2 separate regions of the Homo sapiens genome follow, and region 1 is linked to region 2. Evidence: promoter capture Hi-C in human tissues and cell types (Jung and others, 2019). All regions are on one chromosome and are shown on one strand. The core of a region is centred on a gene start or on the middle of the fragment in contact, and the rest is flanking DNA. Distances in the headings are between cores, read along the strand shown. Region 1 has its middle 24 kb from the start of MIR3680-1. Region 2 holds the start of DNAH3 (dynein axonemal heavy chain 3).

Region 1 (3,918 bases), core at 20-2,519, 380 kb before region 2:
GCCACCCCACCGAGCCAACGGGATATCCAAATGGGGAACCATGAATCTTTTTTCTCACCATACCTCACACCCCTACCTCACAGCACACACAAAAATTAATTCCTGACAGACTATAGATCTAAATAGGAAAGGTAAAACAATAAAGCTCCTAAAAAATAACATAGGAGCCAGGCGCTGTGGCTCACGCCTGTAAACCCAGCACTTTGGGAGGCCAAGTTCCAGACTAGCCTGACCAACATGGAGAAACCCCATCTCTACTAAAAATACAAAATTAGCCGAGCTTGGTGGTGCATGCCTGTAATCCCAGCTACTCGGGAGGCTGAGGCAGGAGAATTGCTTGAACCCGCGAGGCAGAGGTTGTAGTGAGCCGAGATCGCGCCATTGCATTCCAGCCTGGGAAACAAGAGCAAAACTTTGTCTCAAAAAAAAAAAAAAAAAAAAAAAGACTTGATCCAGAACTCAATGTTGGGTCTGAGTGTGGCTTTTCTGTCTCTCTTTCGTGATGTTGTCTCTCTCTTGGCAAGCTCATTCTTTTTGTGGAAAGAGAGCTACCACTTGTGCCAGGATGGTTTCCATTAATTCATGTAACATTTATTGAGTGCCAATTACGTGGCAGGCTCTATTCTAGACTCTGGGGACAGAGCCTAGACTGTTTCAGGTCTGAAGAGCCTTTGCCTCGGAGCTCACGTTCTGATGGAAGGAGGTAGACCATGATGCATCAACACAGAAAGTCTGGGGTGGTAAGTCACAGGGAGAGGACATGGCTGGGTGGGGAGGTCTCTTCTACAGGGGCCATTTGGGCAGAGACCAAAGGAGGAGTGAACCACATGGCTACCCGAGGGCAGAGAATTCCAGGCAGAGGCTGGAGGCAGGAGCACCCTTCTGGTGTTCAAGGTGCAGCCCGAGGGTGAGGGCAGCCAAGTGCAGGGGTGAGGAGAGAGGCATGGGAGGCAAGGGTGGGTACTGGGGCCCCATAGGCTGGGTGGAGACTTTGGAGCTGCTGCTGGGTTCTGAGCAAAGGGCATTTTCGAGTGGAAAGGCTCAGTTTGGCTGTGCTGCCAAAGAGTTTTCCAAAGTGGTCGTTCCTGTCCTTGCCAGCAGGTCATTGTGTGCTTTCTGGAGGGTGTGCCCAGGTGTCTCCTGTGGATTTAATTTGCACTTCCCTAATGATTAATGATGTGGAGCACTTTGTGCAGATTCATTGGCCATCTGCATATCCTCTTTCACCAGATACCTACTTGAGCCATTTGCCCATTTTTCTCTTGGGCTGTCTGTGGTTTTCTTAGTGATTTTTAGGAGTTCTTTATATATTCCAATTATAAGGCCTTTGTCCATTTTACAAATCTCTTCTCCCACTCTGGGGCTGCCTTTCACCCTCTTTTTTTTTGTTGTTTTTTGTTTTGTTTTGTTTTTGAGATGGAGTCTTGCTTTGTCACCCAGGCTGGAGTGCAGTGGCGCAATCTTGGCTCACTGCAACCTCCACCTCCCGGGTTCAGGTGATTCTCCTGCCTCAGCCTCACAAGTAGCTGGGATTACAGGCGTACACCACTGTGCCTGGCTAATTTTGTATTTTTAGCAGAGACGGGGTTTCTCCATGTTGGTCAGGCTGGTCTCGATCTCCCGACCTCAGGCGATCCGCCTGCCTCGTCCTCCCAAAGTGCTGAGATTACTGGCATGAGTCACCGCGTCGGGTCTGGATCAAGCTTATAGCAATGGTTGCACCTGATCAGTTACACAAGCCAATAGGTGCCCTTTCATGTAAGCCAGTTTGGGTTTCTTTTTACCTATTACTTGCTTGGAAAAAATCCAAAATCAGTACAGTGTTTTTCTTTTCCTTTTTTTTAGATGGAGTGTCGCTCTGTCACCCAGGCTGGAGTGCAATGTCATGATCTCAGCTCACTGCAACCTCTGCCTCCCGGGTTCAAGCAATTCTCCTGCCTCAGCCTCCCGAGTAGCGGGGATTACAGGCACCCGCCACCATGCCCAGCAAATTTTTTTTTTTTCTTTGAGACAGAGTTTTGCTCTTGTCGCCTAGGCTGGAGTGCATTGATGCCATCTTGGTTCACCACAACCTCTGCCTCCCAGGTTCAAGCAATTCTCCTGCCTCAGCCTCCCAATTAGCTGAGATTACAGGCATGGGCCACCACGCCTGGCTAATTTTGTATTTTTACTAGAGATGGGGTTTCTCCATGTTGGTCAGGCTGGTCTTGAACTCTCAACCTCAGGTGATCCGCCCGCCTCAGCCTCCCAAAGTACTGGGATTACAGACGCAAGCCACTGCGCCCAGCCTATTTTTTTTTTTTTTTTTTTTTTGCATTTTTAGTAGAGATTTGGTTTCACCATGTTGGTCAGGCTGGTCTCGAACTCCTGACCTCAGGTGATCTGCCTACCTTGGCCTCCCAAAGTTCTGGGATTACAGGCATGAGCCACCGTGCCTGGCCCAGTATTTTTATTTTCATAGCATTAAAAAATATTCCTCCCAGAAGAGAGAAAGTTTTACAATCAACCTAATTAAATTATCTTCCAATGTCACCTTACAGTCAGATAAGCACAGAAAAATAAGCAGATGCTAATCTGTTTCCCAAGGTGATAAAAGCCGTTTCATTCCGGGGAGATAAAGAATAAGTAGGTTAGGTCAGGCGCGGTGGCTCACGCCTGTAATCCCCGCACTTTGGGAGGCTGAGGTGGGCAGATCACCTGAGGTCAGGAGTTCAAGACCAGCCTGGGCAACATGGTGAAGCCCCGTCTCTACTAAAAAAAAAAAAAAAACGCAAAAAATTAGTCGGGCATGGTGGCAGGCACCTGTAATCCCAGCTACTTGGGAGGCTGAGGCAGGAGAATTGCTTGAACCCGGGATGCAGAGGTTGCAATGAGCCAAGATTGTGCCACTGCACTCCAGTCTGGGCGACAGAGTGAGACTCCGCCTCCAAAAAAAAAAAAATACAAAAACTAGGCTCACGCCTGTAATCCCAGCACTTTGGAAGGCTGAGGCAGGTAGATCATGAGGTCAGGAGATCAAGACCATCCTGGCTAACACGGTGAAACCCCGTCTCTACTAAAAGTACAAAAAACTAGCCGGGTGTGCTGGCATGTACCTGTAGTCCCAGCTACTCGGGAGACTGAGGCAGGGAGAATTGCTTGAACCCAGGAGGTGGAGGTTGCAGTGAGCCGAGATCGTGCCACTGTACTCCAGCCTGGGCAACAGAGTGAGACTCCATCTCAAAAAGAAAAAAAAAAAAAAACTAAGGCTAGGCACGGTGGCTCACGCCTGTAATCCCAGCACTTTGGAAGGCTGAGGTGGGCAGATCATGAGGTCAGGAGTTTGAGACGAGCCTGGGCAATATTGTGAAACCCTGTCTTTTCTAAAAATACAAAGAAAAATTAGCCGGGCGTGTTGGCATGCACCTATAATCCCAGCTACTGTGGAGGCTGAGGCAGGAGAATCGCTTGAACCTGGGAGACGGAGCTTGCAGTGAGCCGAGATGGCGGCCACCGCACTCTAGCCTGGGTGACAGAGCGAGACTCCGTCTCAAAACAAAACAAAACAAAATCTAGCCAGAAATCGCTTGAACCCAGGAGGTGGAGGTTGCAATAAGCTGAGATTGTGCCACTGCCCTCTAGCCTGGGCAACAGAGTGAGACTCCACCCCTCCATGCCCCCCCAAAATAAAGTGTCTGGCTCTTTAAAGGAGATCACACTTGGTGGTGATGCGGGTGAAAGAGGATTGGGTTGAAGGAGTCAAAGTAGAAGTGGGAAAGCACCAAGCTGGGAAATGGGCACGTTTCTGTTCTGCGTCTAAGGTGATGCTCCTGACTTCGATTCCATCGATCAAGAGGAGTTTGCTGAAGGACAGGGTGTACAGCTGCCTTGCCCGCTCCTGAACCAGGCCCGGGGTGAAGTGTGTTGTGCACATTCAGC
Region 2 (4,122 bases), core at 417-2,916:
AGGGCTCCTCAAGTGCCGCCAAAGTGGGAGCCCAGGCAGAGGAGGCGCCGAGAGCGAGCGAGGGCTGTGAGGACTGCCAGCACGCTGTCACCTCTCACTATGCAATGCTTTTCATAGGAACTCGGGAATGTTTGTGTTCTGGACAGGTAGGTTATGGAAAGAGCAGTGGACTCGGGGTCATCAGGACAGGTTCCAATTGTATCAGTGCTACTTATGAGTCAAGTCGACTTAGGAAAGTTATGTATCTCTCAGTTTTTTTGTTTGTTTTTCTTTTTTTTTGAGATGGAGTTTCGCTCTTGTTGCCCAGGCTGGGGTGCAGTGGCATGATCTGTGCTCACTGCAACCTCCCTCCCAGGTTCAAGCGATTCTCCTGCCTCAGCCCCCCAAGTAGCTGGGATTACAGGCGACTACCACCATGCCCGGCTAATTTTGTATTTTTAGTAGAGATGGGGTTTCACTATGTTGGCCAAGCTGGTCTCAAACTCCTGACCTCAAGTGATCCATCCACCTCAGCCTTTCAGAGTGCTGGGATTACAGGCATGAACCACCATACCTGGCCCATATCTCTCAGTTTTGATTCCTTATCCTTAAAATGGGAATATCGTGGTGTTTGGGGGGAAATTGAATGAAAAAAAAAGATATGCAAGCATGGCACCCCCAAAAAACTCATTAAGTCTAACTTGGTTTTGAGAGAACTTCACAGTGACCATGGAACATGTGCTTTTAATATTCGGGCGGCAGCTAATATTGTTACTTTTGAGTATGTGCACATGTATTTCTGTGTTTATCGTAATATTGATGTTAGCCACAACATTTATAGAGCATTGACTGTGTTGGGTGATCAAACTATCCCAGTTTGCCCAGGACTGAGATTGCTCCCAGGATGCAGGACTTAGTGTTAAAATGGGGAAAAACTGGGCTGGGCGCAGTGGCTCACACCTGTAATCCCACACTTTGGGAGGCCGAGGTGGGCGGATCACGAGGTCAGGAGATTGAGACCATCCTGGCTAACACGGTGAAACCCCGTCTCTACTAAAAATACAAAAAATTAGCTGGGCGCACTGGTGGGAGGCTGAGGCAGGAGAATGGTGTGAACCCGGGAGGCAGAGCTTGCAGTGAGCTGAGATCACGCCACTGCACTGCAGCCTGGGCAACAGAGCAAGACTCTGTCTCAAAAAAAAAAAAAAAAACGGGGAAAAACTGGGAAAATATCAGTTATCCTTCTACTATATGCAAATCGCTCTGTACACGTTATCCCGTTAACCCTTCAAAGCAACCCTATGAAGTAGGGACTCACATTATTGCCATTTTACAGACGGAAAGGACACTTGGAGAGATTAAACAACTTGCCAAGCCACACAGCTAATTAATGAGAAGAGTAGGATCTGAAGTATGACCTGTCCAATTGTAGATCCCAAGAACTTAACCACCATACTCTGTGCTTTTCGACGTCTCCAAAGGTCTTTTATTGCTGTTGCCTCTGTTATTCCTGGAACATTGCTAAACACCTTCCCATGTTCCCTTCTGTCACCAACACTTCCTGCTGCCCACCTGGGCCTCCAGCAAAGGGAGACACCAGCTCACAGAGCTAGGTCATGCCCAGTCTTGTATGTAGGCACCGCAGAGGCCCCTCCTTCCCTTAGCAACAGACGCTGAGACATGGTTACTGTGCCCAGCGCCTGCATACAAGCACTGCCAGTGTTAAGAGTCCAGGGAGGAGGAGGGAGAACAGTTCGGGCTGCCAGGATGTTGTTTGGAGGGGTGAGTCTCCCTCTTCTCTGTATTAATGTGTAACTCTGCTTCAGTCTTTCCTCTGCAGTGAACTCAGTGTGTTTCTGGAAAATTTCCAAGAGAGAAGCACTCAAGGGAAAGGAAGCGTGGCCACCGCTGGGGGACTAGGAACCAGAGCCAAAAGCGCAGCAGAAACCCAGTGCTGTCCCCTTATCTCTAGCTTCCCTTTCTCTCCTTTTTTACCAGGGAACTCCTCAGCGGGCCAAAGTCTATGACCTCAGAGAGGCAACCTCATGAACAGAGCTTTCAGAACATCTGGAAAGTTCCATTGTTGGTGTCATCCCCATTATGCTATAAGGAAGTGTGAATTTCAGACCAACTGGATAGGAGAGGCACATCCCTGGAGAAGCTGAAAGCTCTTTATTCATTTTAAAAAAATAGCTACAATTAGAGTGGACACCATGGGTGACATGGATTGCTCATCTCAGAAGGTAGGTGTGAATTTTAAGACGTTTCTTGTTTTACCTGTATTTTTTTTTTTTATTTTTTATTTTGAGACAGAGTTTTGCTCTTTGTTGCCCAGGCTGGAGTGCAATGGTGTGATCTCGGCTCACTGCAACCTCCGCCTCCTGGGTTCAAGTGATTCTCCTGCCTCAGCCTCCTGAGTAGCTGGGATTACAGGCATGTGCCACCACACCTGGCTAATTTTGTATTTTTAGTGGAGACAGGGTTTATCCATGTTGGTCAGGCTGGTCTTGAACTCCCGATCTCAGGAGATCCGCCTGCCTCAGCCTCCCAAAGTGCTGGGATTACAGGTGTGAGCCACCGTGTCTGGCCGATTTACCTGTATTTTTAATGTGTTGGGAATATGTGGGAAGAGGGCCAATTGGCATGTTAGATGCCCTTGACTGAACAAGTGTATTCATCACATTTTTTTGTTGTCTGCTTTGAAATATCATTTTTGCTGAATTAGACTTTTGGAAATCTTCAAGTTTTGCTGTGAAAAATCCGGGAATAGACACCCGTTCTTCCCTTTCCTTCCCTTCCAAGCCCATTAGACCATATATTCCAACCATCAGTTTTTGACTGTGGCTGAACATTAGAATATTCTGGGGAGCATCTTAAAAACATAGAGTCTTGGTCCCCCACTCCTAGATTCCGATCCAGAAGATTTGGAGTGGGGCCCTGGAATCTATATTTTTATCTAAGACCAGAGTGATTCTGGTGTAGCACGTCCTCAGACGAGCATTTGGGAATGGCCTCCATGAAGAACATACATACAACATGTGTAATCAGCAATAAGCTGCCCAAAGTGACAGTTCTACCCAATCTAAGTTCCAGAATTTCTGTTGTATCTGTGTTGAATCACCAGGTTGCCATACAGCGAAGTGCCCAGAGGAGCATTTTAAATAGAAACTTTGTAAAACTAAAGTGGATTTGTAGATAATAACTAAGCCAATATGCTCTGAAGTGAAAGCTCCTTGAAATTTACCAAAGAGAAGATTTAAGCATTAATTTCTTTCTTTCTTTTTCTTTCTTTCTTTTTTTTTTTTTGAGACAGTTTGTCTCTGTTATCCAGGCTGGAGTGCAGTGGCGTGATCTTCACTCACTGAAGCGTCTGCTTTCTGGGTTCAAGCGATTCTCCTGCCTCAGTCTCCTGAGTAGCTGGAACTACAGGTGTGCGCCACCGCCTGGCTAATTTTTGTATTTTTAGTAGAGACGGGATTTCTCCATGTTGGCCAGGCTGGTCTCGAACTCCTGGCCTCAAGTGATCCACCCGCCTCGGCCTCCCAAAGTGCTGGGATTATAGACATTAGCTACCACGGCTGGCCAAGCATTCATATTTTTAACAAACAATTTTGCACAACCAGCTAGTTCTTATGAGAATCTCGATCTCTTGAAGGTGCCACAGAGGATTCTTAGCCATTTATTGCCAGGAAAACTCTTTTAGCCCCATTCTGCAATTGATGCCTAGATCTGCTCATGTTGTGTGTGCCCCATGTGTTCCTGATCGACAGACTGGGATGCTTTCTGCTATCAGCGTACTTATGACTGTTTGTGTATTTGTTTTAGTCCAAGCCTATGACATAGCCTAGTTTAATTTGTTTCTACAGAGGTTCTCCCTCTTTCCATTGTGTTCTGCAAAATGCTCACGGTTTGCTTTCTTCATTATCCCGAGAACAGCGTCCCTGTCAGTTTGCATGATGCAGTAAGGAAGCTGAGGCAGGAGAATCGCTCGAACCTAGGGGGTGGAGGTTGCAGTTGTAGTGAGCCAAGATTGTGTCACTGCACTCCAGCCTGGGCGACAGAGCGAAAACTTGGACTCAAAAAAAAAAAATAAATAATAATAATAATAATAAATAAGTCACTGACTTAGAAGTCAAGCCGGCC

The links. Contacts are between HindIII fragments. The study calls those that stand out against the background at their distance.
Region 1: a fragment that was not itself captured here is called in contact with the fragment with the promoter of DNAH3 in region 2 in 1 of the 25 tissues and cell types used here (stomach).

Annotation. Positions count from the first base shown.
Region 1 is chr16:21,527,924-21,531,841 of GRCh38, reverse strand. No RefSeq gene overlaps it. Among named protein-coding and RNA genes, the nearest start is that of MIR3680-1, 24 kb to the right of the region's middle. RefSeq lists an enhancer at 3,815-3,918. The HindIII fragment of the contact is 9,736 bases long and covers 1-3,918 here.
Region 2 is chr16:21,148,390-21,152,511 of GRCh38, reverse strand. DNAH3 (dynein axonemal heavy chain 3) reads left to right here and starts at 1,666. Exons shown (of 62, transcript NM_001347886.2): 1 at 1,666-1,761; 2 at 1,978-2,222. The coding sequence starts at 2,193. The HindIII fragment of the contact is 16,051 bases long and covers 1-4,122 here.